Regions from separate parts of the Homo sapiens genome. Here all the other regions are linked to region 1. The links are contacts of gene promoters, found by promoter capture Hi-C in blood cells and fetal thymus (Javierre and others, 2016). All regions are on one chromosome and are shown on one strand. The core of a region is centred on a gene start or on the middle of the fragment in contact, and the rest is flanking DNA. Distances in the headings are between cores, read along the strand shown.

The links. Contacts are between HindIII fragments. The CHiCAGO score rates a contact against its expected background, and 5 or more counts as called.
Region 2: a contact is called between a fragment that was not itself captured here and the fragment with the promoter of GRHPR in region 1, in 1 of 17 cell types (total B cells). The highest score is 6.4, in total B cells.
Region 3: a fragment that was not itself captured here is called in contact with the fragment with the promoter of GRHPR in region 1 in 1 of 17 cell types (total B cells); the score reaches 5.1 in total B cells.
Region 4: a contact is called between a fragment that was not itself captured here and the fragment with the promoter of GRHPR in region 1, in 1 of 17 cell types (naive B cells). The highest score is 6.4, in naive B cells.
Region 5: a contact is called between a fragment that was not itself captured here and the fragment with the promoter of GRHPR in region 1, in 5 of 17 cell types (naive B cells, total B cells, endothelial precursors and 2 more). The highest score is 10.4, in naive B cells.
Region 6: a fragment that was not itself captured here is called in contact with the fragment with the promoter of GRHPR in region 1 in 3 of 17 cell types (naive B cells, M1 macrophages and total B cells); the score reaches 7.0 in naive B cells.
Region 7: a contact is called between a fragment that was not itself captured here and the fragment with the promoter of GRHPR in region 1, in 3 of 17 cell types (total B cells, naive CD4 T cells and megakaryocytes). The highest score is 7.9, in total B cells.

The regions. Positions count from the first base shown.
Region 1 is chr9:37,421,028-37,424,670 of GRCh38, forward strand. GRHPR (glyoxylate and hydroxypyruvate reductase) reads left to right here and starts at 1,669. Exons shown (of 9, transcript NM_012203.2): 1 at 1,669-1,806. The coding sequence starts at 1,724. RefSeq lists enhancers at 1,015-1,640, 1,641-2,266 and a silencer at 1,481-1,630. The HindIII fragment of the contact is 7,938 bases long and covers 1-3,643 here.
Region 2 is chr9:36,910,955-36,914,597 of GRCh38, forward strand. The region is part of intron 7 of PAX5 (paired box 5); the gene reads right to left. Among named protein-coding and RNA genes, the nearest start is that of MIR4476, 19 kb to the left of the region's middle. The HindIII fragment of the contact is 3,297 bases long and covers 68-3,364 here.
Region 3 is chr9:36,946,121-36,949,763 of GRCh38, forward strand. All of the region lies in intron 6 of PAX5 (paired box 5), which reads right to left. Among named protein-coding and RNA genes, the nearest start is that of MIR4476, 54 kb to the left of the region's middle. RefSeq lists an enhancer at 1,539-2,063. The HindIII fragment of the contact is 3,086 bases long and covers 441-3,526 here.
Region 4 is chr9:36,967,646-36,971,288 of GRCh38, forward strand. All of the region lies in intron 5 of PAX5 (paired box 5), which reads right to left. Among named protein-coding and RNA genes, the nearest start is that of PAX5, 65 kb to the right of the region's middle. The HindIII fragment of the contact is 3,105 bases long and covers 332-3,436 here.
Region 5 is chr9:36,984,483-36,988,125 of GRCh38, forward strand. All of the region lies in intron 5 of PAX5 (paired box 5), which reads right to left. Among named protein-coding and RNA genes, the nearest start is that of PAX5, 48 kb to the right of the region's middle. RefSeq lists an enhancer at 2,022-2,977. The HindIII fragment of the contact is 5,123 bases long and covers 1-3,643 here.
Region 6 is chr9:37,007,621-37,011,263 of GRCh38, forward strand. All of the region lies in intron 3 of PAX5 (paired box 5), which reads right to left. LOC105376032 (a long non-coding RNA gene) reads left to right here. Exons shown (of 4, transcript NR_188579.1): 4 at 1-1,432. Among named protein-coding and RNA genes, the nearest start is that of PAX5, 25 kb to the right of the region's middle. The HindIII fragment of the contact is 2,352 bases long and covers 785-3,136 here.
Region 7 is chr9:37,026,701-37,030,343 of GRCh38, forward strand. All of the region lies in intron 1 of PAX5 (paired box 5), which reads right to left. LOC105376031 (a long non-coding RNA gene) reads left to right here and starts at 1,245. Exons shown (of 2, transcript XR_929590.3): 1 at 1,245-1,387; 2 at 2,220-3,643. RefSeq lists a silencer at 838-1,297 and enhancers at 972-1,266, 2,069-2,743, 2,318-2,497, 2,768-3,247. The HindIII fragment of the contact is 6,093 bases long and covers 1-3,643 here.

The DNA of each region.
Region 1 (3,643 bases), core at 419-2,918:
TTTAGGTTGTTTCCCATATTTTACTATTCCAACAATGCCACAATGAAGAGCCTTTGGCAGATGGCATTTTGCACATGTGTGAACGCGTCTGTAAGGTAAATTCCTAAAAGCAAAATTTCTGGGTCAAAAAAGATGTGCAGTCTAAACTTTGATAGCTACTGCCAAACTTTCTTATTGAAGTTGCTGATTTACACTCCTACCAGCAACGTATGAAAGCACCTGGTTCCCCAATGTATTATTTTTTACATTGGTATCTTGCTGTAATTTTAATATGCAGTTCTTTTGTGAGTCAAGTTGAGCACTTTTCATCTTTTGTTTTTTTTTTTTGTTTGTTTTGTTTTTTTTTGTTTTAGATGGAGTCTCACTCTGTCACCCAGGCTGGAGTGTAGTGATGGGATCTCGGCTCACTGCAACCTCCATCTCCTGGACTCATGAGCAATTCTCCTGCCTCAGCCTCCTGAGTAGCTGGAATTACAGGCATGTGCCACCATGCCCACCTAATGTTTGTATATTCAGTACAGACAGAGTTTCACCATGTTGGCCAGGCTGGTCTCAAACTTCTGACCTCAAGTGATCCGCCTGCCTCGGCCTCCGAAAGTGCTGGGATTACAGGCATGAGCCACCGCGCCCAGCCATACATTTAAAGGCCATTTTCTTTTCTATAAACTGTCCATTGATATCCTTTGCTTATTCAGATAAGCTGGGCATCTTTGTCTTAGGAACTATTTGTGCAATAAGTAAATCAACCCCTTGTCTATAAAATGAGTTGCAAATATATGGTATTTTTCCCGGTTTGTTGTCTTATGATTTTGTTAATTTTTTTTTTTTAAGATAAACATAAGCCTGGTATTTCCAGGCACCTGGTATTTCCAGGCAGTCTCCCATACAAGCCCTAACCAGGCTTAGTTTCCAAGATCAGATGCATTCAGGATGGTACGGTTAATTTTTCAATGGAGAATTAGTTGTACTCTTATGGCTTCTGGCTTTCGCACACATAGCGTATCACTTATTTATTGCTGCATAAAGAATTACTCCAAAATTGAACGGCTTAGAGCAACAGCAGTCAGTGCATTATCATCTCTTATGGTTCCGGGGTTGACTGGGCTCAGCCAGTGATTCTCCTAAAGGCTCTTTCTTGCAGTTTTAGCTGTAGTCAGGTGGGAGTTGGCCTGGAGTCACCCGAAGGCTTCCTCACTCATACCTCTGGTCATTGACGGTGGCTGTGAGCCGGGCCCCTGGCTGTGCTGTTGGCCTGAACACCTACACGTGACCTCTCTGTGTGTCCTGGACTTCCTCACAGCCTGGAACCTGGGTTTCTACCCTGGGCCAACCCAAGAGACAGAAAAAGTGGGGGCTTTCAGTCTCTTAAGGCCTGAGCCTGTGGAAACAGGACCCTGAGCGTGTAGAAAAAGCAGGGCTCCCATGAGGCCTTGGACGGGATACTGCCCCCTCTCCCCCGGGGCCCTGATTCCCCAGTGGCACGAGGCGCACCCCCCCACACACACACAAGGACACTGTGTAGGGTCACTGTTACTGTCACTCCCCGAGCACGCACAGTCACCGCTCAGCCGCAACCCGGCGCTCCCTCTCGCGAAGCCACACCCCCTGCGCACGCCGCGCGCGACGTCTCTCCCGCCCACTCCAGCCTGGCCCCGCCCCGGCCCAGCTACATTCCCGGGCCAGCTTCTGTACTGCCAGGTCCGGGTCGGCGGCTGCACTGCGGATGAGACCGGTGCGACTCATGAAGGTGTTCGTCACCCGCAGGATACCCGCCGAGGGTAGGGTCGCGCTCGCCCGGGCGGCAGAGTAAGAGCCTCGCGCGCCGTGGAGGAGGGAGCAGGGCGGTCCCAGGGACCGGAGAGCCGGGCGGGGCGTTTGGGCCTTGTGGCCGGCTGGGGCAGGCTTGGAGTTTTGGGGAGTCTCGGAGAAAGTTCTCTGGGGCCCAGTTCTCCTCTTAAGACGACGCTGGGACCTGCAGTTCCGGCTTTGGAGAGGGGAGATTGCCCCTGAGGCAAGGTCCAGGCTAATTCTCCACGCTCCCACAGGACATGTGGGGTCAGGGACATGGCGGTCACTGACCAGGCCCTTGGACGTTTGGCAGGGGGCTTTGATGACTCTTCTTCTTTATATTTACTTATCTTTTTTTTTTTTTTTTTGAGACAGTCTCACTCTGCTGCACAGGCTGGAGTGCAGTGGCTCGATCGATCGTGGCTTACTGCAGCCTCGACTTCTTGGGCCCAATCAGTTCTCCCACCTGAGCCTCCCGAGTAGCTGGGACTACAGGCGCAAACAATCACTACCGGCTAATTTTCTGATTTTTTTTTTGTAGAGATGGGGGTCTCACTCTGTTGCTCAGGCTGGTCTCAAATTCCTGGGCTCAAGCAATCCTCTTGCCTCAGCCTCCCAAAGTGTTGGGATTACAGGTGTTAGTCACCATGACTGGCCTGAGGACCCTTTAATTTTTAAGACAGGGTCTCACTCTCATCCAGGCTGGAGTGCAGTGGCACCATTATACCTCACTGCAGCCTCAACCTCCTGGACTCAAGAGATACTTCCACCTCAGCCTCCCAAGTAGCTGGGACTACTACAGGCATGCACTACCATGCCTGGCTAATTTTTTATTTTTTTCAAAGACGAGGGTCTCACTGTGTTGCCCAGGCTGGTCCTGAACTCCTGTACGAAGGGATCCTCCCACCTCAGCCTCCCAAAGTGCTGGGATTACAGGCATGAACCACTGCACCTGGCCCACCCTTGCTAAATGGAACCCTTTTTGTGGGCCAACCTTGCCAGGTGCTTCATATACATAAACTTTTAATCCTGGTAGCACTGTGAAGTCAGTATTATAATTCCCATTGCACAGATTAAAAACTGGAGGCTGGACTTAGGGTTAAGTTTCTTCCCAAAGCCATGCAGCTCCCAGGTGGAGGAGCTGGGGCTTGTACTCAGAAGTGTCTGACTGCTGTCTGATCACTGCATTTGATCAGGTTTGTGTTTCCAATGTTAGATAGGAAGAGGATGCAATCCAGCCTCAGCAGCCAGTTCTAGGGGCATATGAGATTTTCAAATTTTGTTCACTGCAACAAAACCTTTGCCAAGGACCCACTTTGTACTGAGCAGGAGAAGGTGGAAGGCAGCAACCGCGCCCATGGTAACAGTAGCTCACGCTGTACCCTGCTCATGGGGAGGTGGATGAAAGGTGGTCAGTGCCCTGGGCTCAGTCAGGAGGTGCAAGTAGCTATCCTGTGTCCTGCCACATAGAGGCTCCACACGTGCTGACTGTACTGAATTCCATGGCAAGGGCCAGGAGGCACCGTGCATCACTGGGACAAATATCTGGTTGCTGTGAGCTGCCGTGGAAGCGTTGGGTGGCCTTGACCTTATCTTTCCTGGCCCAGTCCAACTATGAGAGTTTTCTATTTCATGGACTCCACGGACAGGAAGAGATGCAACAGGCCATTGAATCCAGGCCCCCCACCTGAGGCACACCCTGCCCCCCACGGGCCTTCCCTGCAGTTGGCCGCCTGCTTGGCCGCCCAGCCCCTGTGAATGTGGGAAAGCTCTTCTCTGTGCTGACCTGAGAGCTGTCCCCATGCCTTCCCCCTTGCAGCTTAGGCTCTGCTGGGGGGCCCCTCAGCCCTTCACC
Region 2 (3,643 bases), core at 466-2,965, 510 kb before region 1:
CATTTGTACATTTAAAAGGCTGAAGCTGTAATTTCTGCCAGAATGCCTTTCCCCGAGCTCCCCACAAAGCTTCTCAACATTTAGATCTCAGATCAAACACCACCATTTTACAGAGATCCCCCCAGCTGGGCACCACTCCCTGAGTCTCTCTCTTCTCTCCCACTTATTTTCTTCAGAGCACATGCCCTGGTAAAATTACATTGCAAATTTATTCTGTGTTTACTGTAAATTGCCTGGTTCTGCCCCACAAGTAAGCCCAGTGAGGGCAGGGACTGTCCACCAGGGGCACCATGGTACTCCCGGCCTGGCACAGAGCGAGAGCCCAATAAGCTGTAACTACTGATATTATCTCCTTTCCAATGCACAAAACAACTTTTTTTTTTTTTGAGATCGGGGGGGTCTCCCTATGTTGCCCAGGCTAGTCTCGAACTCCTGGGCTCAAGTGGTCCTCCCGCCTTGACCTCCGGAAGTGCTGGAATTACAGGCATGAGCCACACGCCCGGCCCACAGAACAACTCTGATAGCCAGCCCAGCATCTTCCATGGAATTCCGAGGACGGCCCCGTGGCCGACACTCAGTTGCAGGGTATCATCCTGCACTGTAGCTCTTGTTGTAATTTTTTACAGCGCCTTTTGGCAGCCTGGATACATAAGGTGTTCTTGTATTTTTGCTTTCATTATTCATTATGATTTCACTCTGAGAGAAGAGGTATTTCACTGCATCTCATGAGCCTCAAAAAGGCTCATAAAAATGGGTCAAAGGAGGCATGCCCCATGGAAAAATGAACAAATCGCTGTTCAGAGCTGCCTGGCACCCCGCCAGAGGGGATTGTGACAGAGGAGGCAGAACATATTTCCTGAGGAGGAAAACCCCAAAGCCACTCAGCCCAGCAGAGGGTCTCCACCACGCAGCCGAAACCAGCCTGGGCTCCCCAGCCCTTGAGACGCCCCAGGTCTGGAGTCCGTGGGTTCACAGGCTGAAAGCAACCCCATGCAGTGTTTACTGTTTCCCCAAAATCCCCAAACACACAGTGGATGTCCCTGCTTCCAATGATAGACACTGGGACTCTAAACAAGTGGAAAAAATTCAGAGCTCTCCACCCCTGCCCTTCAGCCAGACATCCTGACGGGGTCTCCAAGACTCCACCACCTTCTGAGGATTTCTGCGGGATCAGGACCCTTCGGAGAGCATCCCCACGTAGAGAGCTGTCGCTGGGCAAATGTCTCTTTGTCTTATGCCCCCAGGGCAGAGATAAGGGACTCTGGACAAGAGCCCAGACACATAGTAATAACTACCATTTATGGGGTGTTTACCACCTGCCAAGCACTGTGCTAAGCACTCTGCAAGGTCCGCTCATATAATCCTTGCCAGAAGCTGTGAGAAAACTCTAGTGCTGGCCCATTTTACAGATGGGAAACTTGGGCCCAGAAATTAGTAACTTGCCTGAGATCACCCAGCTAGAATACGGTGAAGTGGGCTTCCAGCTCTGGTAATCTGGCTTCCCTGCTGACATTCTCAACTGCACACTGAAAGAGACGCCTTCAGGAAATTTGAACTGGGATTTTTTTAGTCCATTTCATCATATAATGGCAGTAGGCTGTGGAAGCCAGGGCCCTGGGGGAGCTAGAACTGGGGCTCCAGCTCTCACTCACTAAATGTGGCCTTGAGCAGGTCACTTCCCTCTCTTGTCCTCAGCCTCCCCAGCTGTGAAGTGAGTAGTGGGACCACAGGATCCTCCCACCCTACCCAGGTATGGTCAGAACGTCTGCTCTGAGGAAGGCTGGGACTCGCCAAAGCTGGATCCCAAACTCCTCCAAGCCTCCTTCTCCACAACTGCCCACATACACTCAGACACCCCTTCGGTGGCTCTTAATCCCCCTCCTCCCACTGGCTCATTTTATCCTTGAAACAGCCAAGGGAGGCAGGGGCAGAATTACCACCCCTATTTCATAGATAGGGAAATGAGCTTGGAGAGAAGAGGATGACCAATGTGTCCAAAGACAGGACCAGTTAGGTGCAAAGTCCAGACAGAAACCTGTTCCTCTGACTCCTGTTCCAGTGCTCTTTCCCTCAGCCCTTGGCTGTTGCTCAGATTAAAAGCCAGAAGAGGGTGGACTTTCTTTGGCTGCCAAGTTTTGGGTATTGAGACTCCAAACATTGAACCTGAGGGATACTGCAAATCAGAGCAGGTGGACTCAGGGACTTGGCAGCCATTCTGTCTGTCTTTGTGGGTATTTCCGCTACTAAAAAGGGGCAGTGCCCAGGGGGAGCCTCAGTCCCCAGGGCCCAGGTCTCCTACCAGGCTAGTGTTTCCCAAACTTGCTGGCCCACAGGAGGCCTCTCTCTGTCTCCTCCTCACATGCCAACTTACTGATGCAAAGAGATGCTCCTCAGGGAAAAAGGCCAGCAAGATACAGTCTGGCCCCATTCCTTTGTTCTCTCAGGCAAAAGGTCAGGTGGACCCAGCTAAGTCCTTCACCAGTAGAGAGGTGAGCAGAAGTGGGGAGCCTGGTGCCCCACCCGCTGTCCTCTCTGGCAGGTAGGCACAGTGGCTCCCCCATCAGCAGGCCTGTGGCCCAATGAGACACCTGCAGATAATTAGTCCCAATCAGGACAGGCCCAAACTGCTGACAGTGCAGTAACAGGCTGGCCATGTCACCAGTTTGCAAATGGTGAGCAGTTTCAGAACTGTGGCCCTAGCTGGTAGAGCAGGTGTTTAACTTAATATTTAATGCGGCATATATATCCCTCTCTAATGAGATCTTCCCTGAGCAGCCCAGAGTGTGAGGGCTGAGATAGAGCAGCGCAGAAGCCATCTGTTCCCCAGACCCCAGGTAGAGCCCTGGGCCGGGCTCACCATCCAGCTGGGCACCTACAGCACTCTGGGCTTTGTGGGGAGGGAAAAGGAGAGAGGTGGGGCCGGAAGGTTCTGAGTGTCCCTTGAAGAGCTCTGCACTATGTCAGCACATCCGCTAACACAGGTGGAGTTAGATGAATGCCGTGTGGTGAAACAGAGCCCCCCACCCCCCAACAGCTCCTGGGGGCATTCCTTCAAGGTGTTTAACAGTTCTCAATGGGGTGGGTAACTGCACCTCCAGAGGGCGTTTTGAAAATCCATGGGGGCTTCTCCCTGCCTGAGGGGTGTTACTGCCCTGCAGTGCAAGAATCCCACACAGTGAAGACTTTTTCTCCATTCTTCACAACTCTCCTGTCCTGCCAAACATTCAGGTACGTGAGAAATCCGTTTACAAGTATTTGAATCTAGAACTGAACTTCATTTACATATAAATGTGAACTTGCAATTTCCATGGTTTTAATATACACTGAATTTTCTAGGAATGCAACTACCGTGTAAATGGAGCAAAGCTTGTACTTTGTTTTACTTGGAACTTTGCCAAGGGTTCCTCACCTATTTGTAAAATCACGCTGGCAGGATGAGTTAGTGTTAGTCCCTAGTCCATACCTGTGTGTAAGGCTATGTCTGGGGCTGTTGCATTCACTGTGATTCTGTGCACGGGGAAAGCCCTGGACACCTTCATTATGTCTTGCAGTTTAAACATACAGAGCATATACATATCATAGTACATATTATTTAATTATACATAACTTTGCTTTCATCTCATTTACCTCATAGGGCATTGTT
Region 3 (3,643 bases), core at 734-3,233, 470 kb before region 1:
CTGAGGAGTGCTCTGTCAGGATGCAGTGCTCCATCAGGAAGCGACTCCCTGAGGAGTGCTCCGTCAGGATGCAGTGCTCCATCAGGAAGTGACTCCCTGAGGCTCGCAGAGGGGCCATGGCCCAGCTGCCCCTGAGCTTCAGGAACTCCGCAATGCCAAGCAGCGCTGCCTCGAGCATTTCCGTGTGTTTCTCCCGGTGCACAGATGGACAGCTCGAATTTGTAAATCAGGGAACTTTTCATGGGAACCACTGAGAGATCAAGAGAAACCCGAGCAGCTGACCTCAGTGTGTAGTGCTGGAAAATAAGATTCCCCACAACCAGCCAAAACCTGGGCCACATTCATCAGGTTGAAACCTCTGGAAATTTTGACCTCAAATCTGCCCATGAGGGGAATCTAATGACCAATGTCAGTTGTCCTGTAAGATTTTCCTGTAGCTAAGCTTCTCCAAAGCAATGAGAGGTTTGTCTCTCAAGGCCATGTGTGAACATGTCTGAGTTGTTTTGCCCCACAGCATAGATGCGCTTTCTGACTACCAGTAATGGAAGGGAAAACTACGTGCTAGAGATAGGTTACGGTCACCAGGACACTTTGCGGTTTAAGTCCATTTTGAGTTACTTGAAATCCACTGGTGAGCTGGCCTGGAAGCATCCCCAGGAGACAGTTGAGGCAACTTCTTTACCAACCACCAGCAGGCAGGGCCCAACCAACTTGGAAAGCCCCATGGCTGCTTCCCGCTCCTTTGCTCCTAACCCCCAAGCCACAGTGTAAAATGATGACTCAGCCACGTGCAGGGCCAAAACAGGAGGGAAGTGATTACTTTTTCCAAATCCCAAAAACCCATTCTAAACAGGATCAGAAGCCCAGAAAAAGGATAACAGTGAATAGTGCTGCCCCCAGGGCACATATATCACAGGATTTCTCCAGATTTATTCCATGTGCTATAATTTGACATCCAGATTCTATTCATAAATGAATTTATTCAGAGGAGCCCATATAAATAAATATGCCTGTTCCTAAAATGATGTCCCTTATGGAAGCAACGTTCCCCTTCCTGGCAGCTCCAGAGGCAGCACCATCAGGCCCATCACTGATCCTCATACTCCAACATCCAAAGTGACAAGCCCTGATGTTTAAAAGATGAAAAATTACACTGTGGCTCCAAACCTACCATAAATGTCCTGTCAGGCTAATGCAATGTAAAAATTTTAAACCTTGCTTTGGATCAAGTACCATTTCCTCAGTTTCCTGAAATTTTACGTATTCATTTGTTTATTTATTTTTTATTTTTTTAAAGTCAGGGTCTCACTCTGTCACCCAGGCTGGAGTCCAGTGGCATGATCATGGCTCACTACAGCCTTGAACTCCTGGGCTCAAGTGATCCTCCCACCTCAGCCTCCCGAGTAGCTATCACGCTTGGCTAACTTTTAGTTTTTTTGTAGAGATGGGGTCTTGCTCTGTTTCCCAGGCTGGTCTCAAATGGTCTCAAGTGAAAGTATTTAAGGATATGCACTGTCCAGATATTACATTACTGTATTACATATTATATGATGTTTCATTATATTATATTTGTACGCATATGTGTGTGTGAACATATATATATATATTTTTAACAGAATTTCCAAAACCATCACCCCCACCCCCAGCACACCTCACACTTTGGCCACCTGAAACTACTCTCCCTTTCCCAGACTGAACGCATATGCATATGTCTCCATGCTTTTGTTCTTTCTCTTCTTCCTCTTTCCACTTCCCTACCTGGCACCCTCTTCCTCATCCTCCTCCCCACACACTCTCTGTGCACCCCACCCCCGTTGCCCCTGGTGAAAGGCAGAGCCGTGTCTATATCACTGAGACATTCCCTGAGAATGCAAATAATAATAAATAACATCCTCTGAACGTCTCCCACGTGCCAGGCACTGTCCAAGACTTTGGAGACACACGGGAGCCTCACACCAGCTCTGTGCTAGCATATCGGCATGGCTACCCTCCTCTTGTGGATGGAGAAACTGATGCTGAGTGAGGGGGAGCAAACTATCCCAATCACACAGCCAGCAGGTACGCACGCCAGGTTCCAGGACCAGGGACTCCAGAGCTCTGGCTCTTACCGCCTTGCCATGTGGCCAGCACAGGTGCAGCCCGACCATAAGTGGGAGCGGCGAGTGTCCCTGAGAACAAGGTTACCGAGGCTGACAGTCCATCCCTTCCTCCGAGAGGGACGGGACACATTCTGTTAGGCAGTTTCCTTAGAAGTATCACAGTCTGGGTTTAAATACCTCCTCCCTCCTTTTGAGGCAGATCTGGGAGACCGGAGAACTCGTCCTCTGTTGCACCAAAAAGGAAATATTAAATTGTTTGTTTGTAGGGGAAGATCCTTACAGTACAACCCAGAATTAATAATTTAGTACAAAGATTTCTTAGCTCCTCAGGCAGAAGTTCTAAAAGTGATACAAATTGTTATTTTGATTGCTTTAATGGAATATTTCCCTGGAAGCCTGGGCTCATTTGCCTGTGTAATCTGTAGCCAAGCAAACAGTAAAAACAGAGAAAGTCTGGGGAAGAAAAAGTTCCCAGAAACTCCCCAGTGCAAATGCCCCATCACTGCAGGTCAGATAGGGCCTTCTGGTCTGTCTCTCATTCCCTCCCACCAAGACAATTCTTAGCCACTTTGTCTCCCTGCGCAAACTCCCTCCTGCCTCCTCTCCAACTCCTTTCCTGCCCAACCCAGCCCTACCCACCTGAGCTTTCTTGATCCCTTTCCCACCATGACCCTGACTCTCTGCCCTGTAGAACCTCTGATGTGGCAGAACACTCCTTAATAATAATAACAATGATAATAAAGGAACATTTGGAGTACCTACTATGGGCTGAACCCTCTGTCAAACTTTGTTTAATCAGTACAACCACCTACAACACAAGTATTGCTGTTTTTTTGTTTGTTTTGTTTTGTTTTGTTTTTGAGACAGAGTCTCGCTCTGTCGCCCAGGCTGGAGTGCAGTGGCACAATCTCGGCTCACTGCAACCTCTGCCTCCGGGTTCACGCCATTCTCCTGCCTCAGCCTCCCAAGCAGCTGGGACCACAGGGGCCCGCCACCACGCCTGGCTAATTTTTTGTATTTTTAGTAGAGACGGGGTTTCACCATGCTAGCCAGGATGGCCTCGATCTCCTGACCTCATGATCCACCTGCCTCAGCCTCCTAAAGTGCTGGGATTACAGGCGTGAGCCACCGTGCCCGGCCAACACAAGTATTGTTATTATCCCCATTTTACTTATGAGAAAACTGAGGATAAAGCAGTGGTAAAGCCAAGTAGATTGGAAATAATAACTTTGTACACAAAGGAAGAAAAGTTCGTATTTGTTTGAGATGTGATAATAACCAGTGTTCTCAAAGCTAGGAATAAAGGAAGAATCACATAGACTCCAGAGGTAAGCCTACATTCACTTTTATTACCACAATCTCCCAAGAGATTACGTGAGCTCAAAACTAACGTAACAGGTTGCAAAGTCACAAGCAGCTGCTTCCGAAGCTTGTGCTCTTAACCATGACACTATGCTACTTCCAGCAGTCCTCCAGACATGGGTCCCTGACGCACTCCCCAGTAGAAAGCACACCACCGTCCTCTCCTCAGGCCTTTCTGGGCC
Region 4 (3,643 bases), core at 634-3,133, 450 kb before region 1:
GATGTGCAATATAAATCTCTCCAAAGGATATATGAGAAACATTTACAGTGGTTGCTCATTCAGGGAGGTAGGAAGTGAGTGAGTGGAGGTGAGGGGGAGAGACTTTTCATGGCATGTTTTTCTTTGGTTTGGTTTGGTTTCAGAAGTTTGAATGTACTGCTTATTACAAAATGTAAATTAACTAAGTATAAGATTAAATTCCCTCTGTGTTCTGTATTGTTAGCTATTCACACTGTAACAGTCTCTGGTGATGATGCTTACATGTCAAAAGAAATATTACGAATTATCAATAAAGAAACAAATGGGATGAAATATCTTCTGTTGAGTCTCAAGCTTGAACTGTTCAAAATAAAATCAAGCACAGAGGGCAAATGTTTCCCGTGAGGAAATGGCCTCGGGGGTACATCATTCCCCGGGGCTCTCTGGGACCATATTGCTCACGCAAGGCTGACCAGAGGCTTCTTGAAACCCAGGCCCAGAGGTGAGGCATCTGCCTTTGCAGTCAGGAAGCCCTGGGGAAAACCAGCGTGGGTCTGCTCTCATGCTGAAAGGTGCCCTTACTCAAGGCCTTGTCTGACCCCTGCCCCCACCAGTGCACTGCTGCCCTAGACTAGACTTCATCCGTCACGTCAAGCTCCCACCCATGTGAGGAATGAGGCCAGACTAAAGACCATGAAGCAGTGAGATGTGGTGTCACCAAGACTCAGTCAGAAGTCAATGCTTCCTCAACTGTACTTATCTGGGGACAACTGCAATGCAGGGCTGACATTTGAACAAAGATAGCAGCTTTGAGTTTTGGCCTTTCGGATCCCTCGTAGAAGTCAACAGGCTCAGAGGACCCAGCATCCTCTATAGGAAGGGCCTTCGGAGGCAGCTCATGAGCCCTCTGAGAAAATGGATTCCCCACCAATTTTGACCCAAGAGGATACTGTAGGCTGGGCCACAGCCTGAGTGACCAGATACCCCCACATGTGGGCCAAGGCAGAAGTTGGTCTCTCTGACCAACGTTCCCCAGCCTGAAGCCTAGGCCCCTCCTCTGGCAGCCCATGACCTTGGCCTTCCACAAGACAGGTGCCTGCTCCTGCCCACAGGACATCATCCTCAGAGACCCTTCTCCCATCATGGCCCATCCCCATGGGGACCATTCCCACAAGGTCACCTAGACTAGCAGGTATGGGAGCTCACGGCCCAGTCTATCTGCCCAGCAGTGTTCTTCCATTGGTCAGCACCCACCAAATGATCCTTTTCTCAAAGGTTCTATGCACACACACACATGCACACACACATGCACACGCACACGCACACCAGGAAAGATGGCTCAGTTTTTCCTACTCAGCTGTGGCTCTGCCCAGTCATCCTGGTCCCAGTCACTCTTGCTAAAGCATGACGTGGGCCTTGGTCCCCAGGACACCACCAAGTTCCTCCTTGTCAGAAGGGGCCCATCCACTTTCAAGAGCTTCTCCCTCCACCAGCTTCAGTTATACTTCCCAGCCCTGACCCTGCCAGCCGGGCCCAAAACTCAGTGAAACCTCCTTCCTGTCAGCCATCTCCTAACAACTCCCGCTGAGGCCTGGCTCTGTCCCCAGCAGGGCAGTGCCCAGCTCCTCCGGCCCACCCAGGCTGCTCCATCAGATCCCCTCAACTCTGCCCCTCTAGGGGGCGTCTCTTCAGCCAGCCAGGCCATCCTCCCAGAGGAGTCCTCAGGCTTGATCCCTCTCCCCCGGGACTCATGGGCCAGGCTCTTTCCACAGCTCAGAGCCCAAAGTTCAGAGAGGGTGGCTCCACTGAGGGCCCCTGGGGGCAAGGTCACTGTCTGGTCACCCAGTAGAGCCCAGCACAGAGTAAAGGCTCAGGGCACACAGGCCCTCAAGTGTACACACAGGGGGTGTTAGGAGACCCTCCCCCTGAGGACACCACACAGACTCAGCACAGGCAGCCTCGCTGGACACGCGCCCCTCTCTGCAGTCTCCCCAGAAGCAGACTGGCTGCGTCCTGCTCTGGTTCTTTGAGAGTCAGCCATAGCCTCTGCCAGCTGAGCCTGTAAGGATATCTAGGCTGCCAGGCGCCGTGGCTCATGCCTGTAATTCTGGCACCTGGGAGGCCGAGGTGGGTGGACTGCCCTCGAAGGGCTGCGAGCTGGGCAGAGCCTGCCTCTCCGGGCATTCACCCTGTCCCGCGATTCCCCTCACCACTCTCACCCCACCAGCACCTCGCTTGCTTTCTTTACTAGGGAAATAATGGCAATAGTGTCTGTCATTTCCTTAAGAAGGATTTGGACACTCCAAAACACATAATTAGTTATTCATTGGTTTAACAAATATTGATAAAATATTTACTCTGTATCAGGTAATATTTTTTAAGTAAATATATTTTAAAAATAAACAAAAACAGGGGATACAGTGATGACCAAGACAAGCCTCTCTCTCTCCAGTCTAGAGAGGGCAGCCCACTTTAGTCAAGTGATCACAGGAATAAACATAGGATTACAAACAACGGTGACTGATGCTAGGGTGAAAAGAGAGCATAAAAATATATCCATGTGACCATGTGTAATGGAGAGGGGAGTGGCCTCCTGTGGGAGGAATCAGGGAAGTCTCCAAGAGGAACTGCATGGAACCGTGAGGAGTGACCAGGGAGAGGGGATGGGGCAGAGAGGGTGCCAGACTGAGGAGATGCTCGTACAAAGGCCCTGAGAGAAGGGGGTGAAAGGAACAGAGGGAGAGAGGGAAGAGGCCCCAGGAGAATCTGGAGAGGCTGGGAGGGATTGAGCCAGACAGCCCCAGGGGCCAGAGAGAGGATCTGAGCCTTGCTGCAGGAGTCTTGAGGAGCTACGGGAAGGGCTGGGGAAACATGTGCCCTCCACATTTCTCAGTCCCAGGGCCCGAATCGCTCGTTCCTTCAGGTCAGGCCATGCTTTCTAAACTCTGCTCCCAAGCCTCCTCTTTTGGTAGAAACTAGGGGCCAGGGGAGGTAGGAGCTTGCATTTGTGGGTGTTTGAAGGTGGATCTGCTGAGTCACCTGTTCAGCCGCAGGTGATTCACTGTGCCCATATGGAATGGAAACCATCTCCCATGGACACGGGCATTGTTCTCCAGACACAGCCAGAAGCACACATGTCTCCTCCTCCAGGATGCCTTCCTTCATGCCCCAGCTGGTCCTCCAGCTCCCATTCTTAGGGCTCTGACCACTTTCTCCCTTATTTTAGGAACCACATCCCCTGGGCCCTTCACTCCCACACTGTGCTATGAGCTACCTTCGGGGTAAAGGTGGGAGGTAATTCATCTCTCTCTCCTCCAAAGCGAATATCTGTGGAATAAATGAATGAATTGGTACTACCTGTGACAAGTGTGACAAGCACCATCACTCTGCATGTCTGTCTGAAAATGTCAGGATCCCTCCATTTGACCTCACACATTCATCATTCTTCCCTCCACCAAGCTTAGTGAGTGCTAATGCCAGGGACACAGTGATGGGCAAAAGCTGAGCCAGCCATTGTCCTCATGGAGTTATGTCCAGAGGAGGTGGCAAACAGTAACTGAAAAATAATCGGACTAGTAAAGGTACAAGTATCAACCAAGATAAGTACTCTGACTGAAAAGGCGCATGGTCTTAAGAGGGGACCCTCTGTCCTGCCTCTGGTGTC
Region 5 (3,643 bases), core at 822-3,321, 440 kb before region 1:
CAGGCTGGAGTGCAGTGGCACAATCTCGGCTCACTGCAACCTCCACCTCCCAGGTTCAAGCGATTCTCCTGTCTCAGCCTCCTGAGTAGCTGGGATTACAGGTGCACACAACCACGCCAGGCTAATTTTTTGTATTTTTAGTAGAGGTTTTTTGTATTTTTAGGGGTTTCATCATGTTGGCCAGGCTGTTCTCGAACTCCTGACCTCAGGTGATCTGCCCACCTCAGCCTCCCAAAGTGCTGGGATTATAGGCATGAGCCACCGCACCCAGCCTCATTTTTTCCAACAGCCAAAGGAAAACAGTATTGGTACATACACACTCACCACACTCGCCTATCACAAAGTGAGTGCTTCACTCTCACCATCAGCCTTGTACAGCTGAGGGTAGAGGGCAATTTTTTCCCAGTGGTCACACTATAAAGCCAAAGAGAGCTGGGCTGGGAGCAGGGACCTGGGTCCCTCTTCCCTGTAGACAACTCACACTCAACTGGCCTTCAGAGGCCATCATCTCCAACTCCCCCACTTTATAGATAAGGATACTGAGGCTCAGAGAGGGGAAGAAAATGGACAAAGCTCACACAGCAAACTAGTGTTAGATTCCCAGCTTAGACCCATTCCACTGCATCATGCTGCCTCTCAAACACGCTGGGCATCAGTTTGTCCGTCTTCAAATGGGGGGTGGGGTGGTGATTGTCACCGGGTGGCACCAGGGATCTCTGAGTGCCATGACAAAGGGAAAAGCCCTCAGCAAGCACTTATTACACCTTTGCCAACTCTGAGCACATAGCAGGTGCCTGCCACACACTCATCACACGGGTTACATTATCTCTCCCTGGCCAGGGCTTTTTTGGATGAAAGGTTGGTTCTCAGTTGTTTAGTGAGTGAGGGAATGCCAGCATGCCTGAAAACAGAACTGGAAAAGGGGACTCTGGTGTCTGCAACCAGAGGGAAAGCAAGAGATCGCAAAGAAGAGAGAAGTCCATTCCCTCACTACTACTTCCACGTGTGTGCCAGGCCCTATGCTGGGCACTGAGGGCGTCTGGGACGAATGGGAGACGACTTCTGCCCTTGGAACTCAAGGTCCGAAGGGGGAGGCAGGAGAAGGCTGTGGGGCCTCAGAGCCAGCCATCTCCATGAGGCAGCCTTCTGTGTAGGGCAAGAAGAGCTTTCTGAGGCCGGCGCCTGGCCACAGAGCATGGGGATACACACAGGGGACAGAGATGGAAGGAAGGCCTTCCCTCCAGGGCGCAAAGCACACGTGGCAGGGTCAAAATCCAGTCCCGAACTTCCCAAGCCACAGCAGGTCACTGGAAAAAGTGATGCCTTTGTGTTTGTGCCTTTTTCTAATTTTCCACCGGTGCAAGAGACAAAAAAGTTTATGTCAGGGCATCATCCAGCAAGATCAGAACCCCCACTCAGGCTCGGGGACAGAGGGAAGAAAGAGTGGCAGTCGCACCCAGGAGGACCTGCCTGTCCAACATCAAGGAATGATCAAGAACTCCCATCCCGGTTCCACGCTGCGCGTCCGCCATCCGAACCGGCCTCGCCCCTCCAGGCCGGGTCCCGACGCCAGCTCCGTCCGACCCCCGCCCGGCACCCCCGTCCGGCGCCCTCGCCCCGGCGCGCATCATCTGCTCCGCTGCCCAGCTCCCGGCTGCCGCCGCGCCCGCGCCCCCCGGGGCCCCGGAAAGCTGGCATCCGTTGTTAGCATAACAAACTCAATTGTTCTCAGCGGGGCCCCGGCAAATAAAGTCATTCATTACGGGCCTCTCCTGGCCGCCGCGGGCCGCGCGGCAATCAGCGGGCCGAGCCACGCGCCAGCGCTGGGACCTGCAGGGCGCGCCGCCGCCTCCACGCTGCGCCCCGGGCCCCGCCGCGGCCGCGCCGGCGGGGGCAGCGCCGGCCGCCGATTAGTTTTATCTCGGAACGTCAATTGACTTAGACTGATTGGCTTCCTGCCGCCAATGTCAATTAAATTGCAAATGCTTGGCGGAGGCCGGCGCGAGCGGGCGGCCTCCTTCCCGGGGGCGCCGCGCTCAGCCTTCTCTTTGCGCCACGTTCGGCCGCAGCTGAATTCATTTCTCCTTCCACGTCGCGCAGGAAATCCAGGTGACCTCCTGGAAGTCGTCTGCCCTCCGCCCCCGGCCCTGGGGACTCCTCCGTCGGAGCCCGAGCCCCGAGGACTCCCGGCCGGTGGGCGGGAGCTAGGCCCACGGGGCGCCCGGACCGCGGGGCCGAGGAGGAAGGGACCGGCCTCCCCGCAGGGACCTCGGCCTCTCTGCCGAGCTGTATTCTCACGGTGGCACCGCGGATCCCTGGACCTCCTTCAAAGATCTTGGGATATGACTCGGTGCGCCCTTGAGCGACTCGCTTCCTGCTCCTCTCATGCCTGGCTTTCTTCACCGGCCACGAGTAGGCTCGAAGGAGATGGTGGCCGGGGTCCCGTCCAGCCCATGCCCAGTGCCTGGGTGTCCAGAGGGAGGAAGGCCTGGCAGCATCACCAGCGTTCACCTGGTGCTGACGCTGTGCCGAGCCACGGATGGGCACAGTCTAATCTTCCCCCACAGCCCTCCGAAGCAGATACTGTTACTGTCCGACTTCTACAGAGGAGCGAAGTGGGGTGCAGGCCAGAGAGTGGCCAGTTGGGTTTCAAACGCCTGCGGCTGCGTGCCTATACGCTGCATTCAGGGAAAGGCGCTGTGGAGGAATAAGAAAGGGAAACGGAAAACGGCCCAGCCTAGACCTGGGCACCTCCCACTGCCAAGAACTGTACCAGGTGTTTTGCCTCTGTTATGGAATTCTCACAGTAATTGTATGACCTAAGTATATAGTCCCCATTTTACAGATGGGGAAACCGACCCTTGGAGATGTTCAGAAATGTGTCCCTTGCCACAGAGCGGGTATGTGAGATGAACTACAATGATACTCTCATAGGCAAGAGAGCTTTACAGCTTATAAAGCACTTTCTCATGCACTTCTTCTCGCCGAATTTGCACAAGAATTTGAAGAAGGCGTCCTGCTCTCTCTGGTGCCAGTAGGAAAATCGAGGCCCAGCATGGGTTGCCCAAGATCACCAGCAAGGGAGTGCCAAGCCAGGACTCCAAGCCCCGCCTTGAAGGCCTTGAACGAGATGGCTCAGGCACAGGCTCTGCTCGTTCCCTCTCCCCATTCTTTGGGGAGCTAGGAAGGAGTCATACACTGGGGTCTGCTGGAAGATGCTCGGGGCCATGGGGAAGAGCAGGAAAGGGGAAAGGGGCTCCCACGAAGGAAGGCATTTGCTGGAGGAACCATAAATTAGGCCCCCAAACAGTTGTTTTTCGCCCATTGTCTCTGCCTCTCTGCCTGCCTGCCTGCCTCCTTAAGGTTGTCTCCCGAGAGGGAGGTACGCAGGTTCTTAACTGATAAAATGTGCCAGCAGTTAAAAGATACAAACCTGACCAATCGTCCTTTTCAGAAAAGAGATGTTCACGGAACAAAAGTACTATTCAGAAGTGCTGGATGGCGTTTGTGTCTGAGACAGAAAGGAAACGAAGAGCGAGAAGATGAAGAAGGAGGGAGGGGGAGCGGCGGGGAGCGGGGGAGGAGAAAGGATCAGGAGCTGGAAGGGTTGTCCAGACTCAGTGGGTCCTAACCGAGGCTCCGG
Region 6 (3,643 bases), core at 711-3,210, 410 kb before region 1:
TCCGGTTTCTTTGGAAAAGTTATATTCCAGTCTCAAACTATTACCTTTTGAAAGGACATTTATTAGAGTTTTTTCTCATTATAACAGTAATATACGTTCATTGTAGACTCTTTGGACAGTATGGGAAAGTATAAAGAAGACATCTAAAAACGGTATTTTGGTGTATTTCCTTTATACCAACATTCCTGGGCATATTTAGAAATATCCATTTTTCTCTTAACAAAATCAGGATTATGCCATGTATACAGTTTTTTTTGTTGTGGTGGTTGTTTGTTTTGAGACAGAGTCTTGCTCTGTTGCCCAGGCTGGAGTATAGTGGTGCGATCTCAGTTCACTGCAACCTCCGCCTCCCAGGTTTGAGTGATTCTCCTGCCTCATCCTCCCAAGTATCTAGGATTACAGGCATGCGCCACCATGCCCAGTTTTTTTGTTTTTTTGCTTTTTTGTTTTTCTTTTTGAGACGAAGTCTCTCTCTGTCACCCAGGCTGGAGTGTAGTGGCATAACCTCAGCTCACTGCCACCTCTGCCCCTAGGGTTCAACTGATTCTCCTGCCTCAGCCTCCCGAGTAGCTGGGACTACAGGCGCATGCCACTGCCTAATTTTTGTATTTTTAGTAAAGAAGAGGTTTCACCACGTTAGCCAGGCTGGTCTCCAACTCCTGACCTCAAGTGGTCGGCCCTCCTCGGCCTCCCAAAGTGCTGGGATTACAGGCGTGAGCCACCGCACTCAGCCTCCATGTATACAGTTTTGCAGCCTGCTCTTTTCATGCAACATTCTGTGAGAAGCTTTTTCACATTCCAGACCATTAATATCTGAAAGTTTATTCTGAGGCTGCACTGGGTCTCCAGCTTATACAAATGAAGAATGACAGAAGTAGCAGGTGGGTGCCTCCCCTTAAACTCAATGGGCAGTAGCCTCTCTGCCCTTTCTGATCTTACAGCTTGGTGCTCGGCACCAAGGGCAGTCCGTGTCCTCAGCTGATAGCCTGAAATGGTCTTTTCTGTTCACCCTATAGTCTCACCACACACACACAGGCCATCTGGAGCCTGGCTACTTGAGCTCAGCAAGGAGCCTCTTGCCCTTTTCTAATCAGTCAGCTTAAGTGTTCCCTCAAATACATTCAGATTGTTTGTTTGTTTTCCCTAATATTCAAACCACTTATTTTAACTAAGCAAACTCGAAGCATATTGGACAACCAGAAAACTCATGGCATTTGGGAGAAGAGTGGGTCATAATAAAATGTCCAGTTCTGGGAGTGAGGTTCTCTTTTTGGTCACCTGGAAGTAAGCTGGCATCTGACCTAATGTTTATATTTTTGTGTATGTCACTTTCTCTGTGTGTATGTGTCTACAGAGATATTGCTGGATATGTCAATATATGGATATACCAGACATAAATATAGTTACAAATAAATATATGGCAAAAAAGTCACTGTAGTTCAGCTTAAAATCCTTACTTTTCAAATCATTGTCTGACTATTAAATTTGTATGTAAAAAAGCAAAGAAAATTATGTTTTCCTCATTTTCTTTTAAAATAGTTATAAATATCACTGGGAAAGCATTATCAATTGTTATAAATCATTAAGAGGCTGCAGTAGCACAGTGTACAGGCTCTGGAACTAGACCACTAGAGTTTGAATCCCATCCCTCTTACAATTTACCAGCTACATGACCTTGGGTAAATTACTTAACCTCTCTATGCCTCAGTCTCTTCATCTGCAAATGGGACTAAGAATCATTTCTATCTCATAGGATTACTATTAGGATTAAATTAATGAATTACTTAAAACAGTGGTAGCTACATACTAGGTGCTCCTTAAATGTAAGATGTTATTTTCAGTGGTGTCTTTGTAAAGATTAATGACTAGCTTCCGTCTTAAAATATTCATATTTTTCACATTTGCTTTAAAAAGCACAAGGCGAGGGCGGTGGGGGAGTAAAGATGCTCAATGGGTGCAAAAAAATAGAAAGAATGAATAAGACCTAGTATTTGATAGCACAATGAGGATACTATAGTTAGTAATAATTTAACTGTACATTTAAAAATAACTAAAAGAGTGTAATTGGGTTGTTTGTAACACAAAGAATAAATGTTTGAGGGGATGCATACCCCATTTTTCATGGTGGGTTATTACTCATTGCATACCTGTACCAAAATATCTCATGTACTCATAAATATATATATATATGCCTACTATGCACCCATAAAAATTAAAAATAATAATAATAATAAAGCACAAGTGGCCCCCTTGGAAGCTGGGGAGGGGAAGGTAGCCACTCTCACACTGTTTTAAGAATGCATCAGGGTTGTCCTTTATAAAGGGGGATCTCAGAGTTATAGGCAAGCCTCTGAAGCTGCCCCCAGGGGTGAGAGATTTTGCTCATCTGCCTTTAGCAGTCACCAAGTAAAAACAAAGAGCATCAGCTTACACTGAGAAGAAACTGTAGTGGGAAGAACAAGACTGTAATTGAATCATAACAACTCTAAACAAATTTTAAATTTTAAATATGACAGGCTGTCAAGACTCATCCAATAAGAACACACTCAGGACCTTTTCTAAGCCAGGGACAGTTGGGCTGAGTTGGCAGTCACACCAAATTGCCCGTCCCTTACCTGCTGAGCGTGAGCAGGACCCTGGCTGCCGTACTGCAGAGCACACTAGACGTTCCAACAGAGAAAGGAGCTCAGCATCAAACTCTTCCTATGAATAAGGAAACTAAAACCCAAGATGCTCAAATGACTTGCCCAGAATTGCACAGCGAGTCAGCCCAGACTCCCAGCCCCCATGCCCCAGCACTTTACTTTAAGCCACATTCAAAGGAAGCGCGGTCCCTCTGCTAAATACTTCCTATGTGAGGCATAAAAGCTATTTGGATTTCAAACCCACTTAGAATTTGAGGTTTAAAACTCTGAGGGACTTTGTGGCATTTAAGGATCCCATGGAAACATCACTCTTCCTTCTTTGAAAGGCTAGGCTTCTCACCATCATCCCACGCCCCCCGCCCCACCACCAGTCCTCACAAAATTACAGTGAAAGAGAAAATCATGGTGCCTTGAAAAAGGAAACAGGAAGATAAGGCTGAAGAAACACCCACATCTATGGCACTGATCAAACTGCCATCAGTGCAGTAAGAAGCTTGGGCCATCAGCTATGCCGAGAATTCAAAACCCAGGGGTCCAACTGTGCCAAGCTGCAAGGGGCCCCACAGGTGGCACCCAGGCCTGTGACTGTTGTGGAGAAGAAAGAGGACACAGATAGAGGTCGATGTGAGTGGATCACTTGAGTCCAGGAGTTCGAGACCACCCTGGGCAACACGATGAAACCCTATCTCTACAAAAAATGCAAAAAATTAGCCAGGCATGGTGGTGGCACCTGTAGTCCTAGCTACTTGGGAAGCTGAGGTGGGAAGATCACCCGAGCCTGGGAGATCAAGGTTGCAGTGAACCATGATTGTGCCTCTGCACTCCAGCCTGGGTGACAGAGTGAGACCCTGTCTCAAAAAAACAAAAAAAAAAAAAAAAAAAGAAAGAGGAAATGGATAAACAATCTCAGAAGGCCTGCTACCAAAATTAGAATTAAGAGCAGAACTAACAAAACATCTTCCCCAGGGCCACCTCCAGCCCGGGACAAGTTTTGTTAG
Region 7 (3,643 bases), core at 366-2,865, 390 kb before region 1:
TGGAGCTTCGGGGTCTCTCTCAGAGCCTCCCTGCTGGAGACCGCCCGGAGCTGCGCGGAGAGGCGGGAAATGGTGCTAGCGCACCCGGGCTAGGAGCGGGTGCCCAACTCCGGCTGGCTTCCCTCCCTGGCTGGCTCAAGCAGCAGCTCCGGGCCCAGCCCGGGGTAGCTGCGGCCAAGGCGCCCGCGGCTTCGGGGGCATAGCGTAGGGGCCCGCCTCCGGGACAGCCAGCAGCCCCCGGCCCCAGGAAGGAGCAGCTTTGAGGAGGCCGCCGGAACAATCGGCCCTTGACTTCACTCAGGGGGCGGAGAGACCCGGGGGCTGCCAGGCTGGTTCCGCGGCCTCGATGCTTCTGAGGTCCCTCCTCGACCCCTCGGTCTCCGCCAGATCCTTTCTTTCTCTGCTTCTCCGAGTCTCTGGGGCTCGGACTTGCCCCCTCCGCCTCTCTCCAACTGGCTCTCCGACGTCTCGGACGAAGTTGCAAAGAACTTCCTCTCCGGCAGCGCGGGGTCCTGGCGGGTTTGGAGATGCTTCCGCCCCTGACGCTGGGGCCGCGACTCCGGAGTCCCCGGGAGCGTGCAGCCCTCCAACACTGAGACCCGCTGCCTTCAAAGTTCCCGCGGCCCCCGCTGCTCGCCCATCGCTGGGACCAGGAACGGGGACACCAGCGACGGACTCTTCCTCGCCGGGGTGTCTACCTCGTGCCAACCAACTCTTCGAGCCCCGCCGCCCTCCCTCGTGGGTCTGATTCCACTGTCTTTCCGCTGCCTCTTCCGGGACGGCCGCCGTGCCTGCCCCAGGCGTGGAGTGAGGAACAGAGGAGAGAGCAGAGGGTCCCAGCCACCAAGGCCGCCGGGGCTGCCGGGGCTGAGATGGAGCCGCAGTCGGCTCTGACTGCCTGCGTTGCCGCCGCCGCCGCCGTCGCTAGCCCTCCGCCTGCTCGGCGCGCACAGTGCGCCACCGCGCCGCCCCGGAGCCGCTTTCAGGACCCGCTGCGTGTGGACAGCGCCGCCCGGGGCTCAGCTCCCTCCGGGCGGGGGCGGGGCGGGGGCTAACCTGCCAATCACGCTCCACCAAGCCAATCAGAGTGGCGTCAGCCGGCCCTGGCCCGAAACACCGCCCCATTGGCTAAGCAGCCCACAGGCTCCGCCTGATTAGCGGACACCTGGGCAATGGGAGAGAATGGGGGGCGGGGCCCAGGCGGCGGCGCCACGTTCATTGACAAACGCGCTGGACTAAGGCCTAGTGGATCGCGGCTGTGGGGAGGGGAAAGGGGCCCACGCAGTGCCTGGAGAGTCCCGCTGCGGGTCCCACGCGGGCTGGACCTCCCCACAGCGATGCTGGGATCCTGGGACGCTCTCAAGGCTTGAGAGCAGTCGATTGAAGGGTGAGAATGGGGGAAGTCTCCAAAAAAACCAAAAAACAAAAAATGTATGTTGGAGGAAGACAAGGAGCGCAGTAGGGATCCTGTACCATCAGGCTCGTGATGGGATCGGATTGTGTGCATCGGAGTGTGTGCATATCTGCCAGTTCTGACCTCACTTTCCTCTTCTGTAAAATGGGCAGAGTGGGGTTAACTAGATTTTACTGAAGGCTCCTTCCACGGAAATATTTCCTAATTTTATTTCCTAATTTTATCAAGTACCTACTAAACCACCACTGGCTCCTCGTCGTCCACCCTCCTCCCTCACTCCACCTGCAGGGCCCTCATTGCTGCATTAACGAAAGGCAGAGACGTTGGGGGAAGGGGGAGAATATCTCACACTCCTTTAAAGTTAGTAACTGGGGCGCACCAGGGCGCACCTGGGTGGAGGGGCTAAGGCTTTGGGCCAGGTTGCCCAAGCAGAGTGGCTGGCCCTCTTTCCTGCCTCAGATCAGGAACTGCCAGAGGCTTTGGGAGCTGGTGTTGCGCTTCTGTCCACCGGAGAAATTCCGCACCCGGCTCAAGGCTTCTTGAGAACCGAATGAGCCAAGTCGCGTCCAGGGCTAATAAGGGTCCCTGAAGCGGGCGGGTGGACAGGCGCATTCTATCTGCAAGGGTCAAGCAAAGCGGCCAGGCGCGCTGCAATGCGGCAGCTTCCAGTTGATGGGAAACTGACCTTCCCTCTACAGGGGAAGTTCCTGTCCCTATGTAGACAAAATGGATGGATTTGTAGCAGAACTCTCTTGCTACACAAGGGATCTTTGACTAGCGAGTCCGCTTCTTTGTGGGTTTTAAGGCTCTGAGACAACAATCAAAGAAACTGGACCTTGAAAAGGAAGCGTGTGACAGTCATTCTTCACCCAAGAAGCTATAGTTCTGTGAGCCATCTGGGCCCTGGCTCAAGAACGACGCTGAGGATTCCCTTGCCCCAGCAACTCATGGGAGTGGTCCGAAGACTCAATTTCTATTTCATGAGTGATGATCCGCTAATATTAAACATAAATCCACAAAACAAGGGCTTTGAGATGCCTGCTCCAGGACTGGGCTTGTAAGGAAGAGTACAGGCTGATCATGAGAGGATTCCTGGGTTATCCTCTTGTTTTATTCTCTGCCTCGGTTTCCCTTCCTCTGCCTTCTCTCTACGCATGCTCTACTTCTCAAACTCCTACACTGGGGTCGACTCTTGGGCCCACCTTCTGTCCCTGTTCCACACCCAGCTGTCCCTGACCAGTAGACAAGTTTCCGGCGCTGACACCCGTCCCCACCCCCCACCAGGGCACAGCTGCGGAAAACGGCCCCAGGCGGGACTCTGGGGACCCAGGAGGCTGCAGTGCGCGCCGGGGTGGAGTGGCGGCGTTATCTCTTCTTTGTCTGGAACCCCGCCTGTCCGGATCTTCCCCTTTCACCCCCGGCCTTGGAGCAGGAAGATCGCAACAGCAGAGAGGGACTGGGATGGAATAGACTTCCTGCACTGGCTTCACCCGATGGCGCCCAGTGGGTCGGAAATAACCAGAATTCAGATCCTCGGCCCAGACTCAACATGGCGGCTTGCACACCTACTGGAGAGGCGGGAGTGCGGGACGCCCTGAGGGATGCAGCCAGTGACACCCCCACCCCCAGCCTCTCTTGCTGAGCTCAGGCCTACAAACCCAGGTTCTCTAGATTCTTAGAGCTAAAAGGGCCTCGAAGCTATGCTTTCTCCATTTCACGGGTGCAGAACCCGAGGCCCAGAGGCAGGATACGACTTGTCCAAAGTCACACAGCAAGTCTGGGGTAGAAGAAAGGCTGCGGGCTGGAAACCTTTCTCAAAAGCGCCTCTCCAGAGCCGCTCTCGGGATGGTGGGGGAGGGGCGATGCTGCCAAATCGAAGAACTCGGCTGGAATATGCCCGCACACGCAGGTTTTCCTTCGGATACCCGTGAGGCTTGCATAGAATCCCCGGGGCACGGCCCGAGCAGGAGTAGCGCCGATTCTCCCTTTCACACAGTAGGTGTTCGGCTTCGGGACAGTGTTCTGCTGCGTGGCACACACAGGACCCGTCTTACCTGTGCACCCAGAGCAGCCCCTTCCCGCAACTCTCGGCGTTCTTGGGGGAAGGAGTTTCCCTCTGGATAGGGGTGATTCATCACCGCCCGAGCGGGCGGCCTCTGGGAAGTTCCAACCCCAAAAGGCGCGACCGGACCTCATACCGTGACCACCTAGCCCAGCCTTACAGGTCAC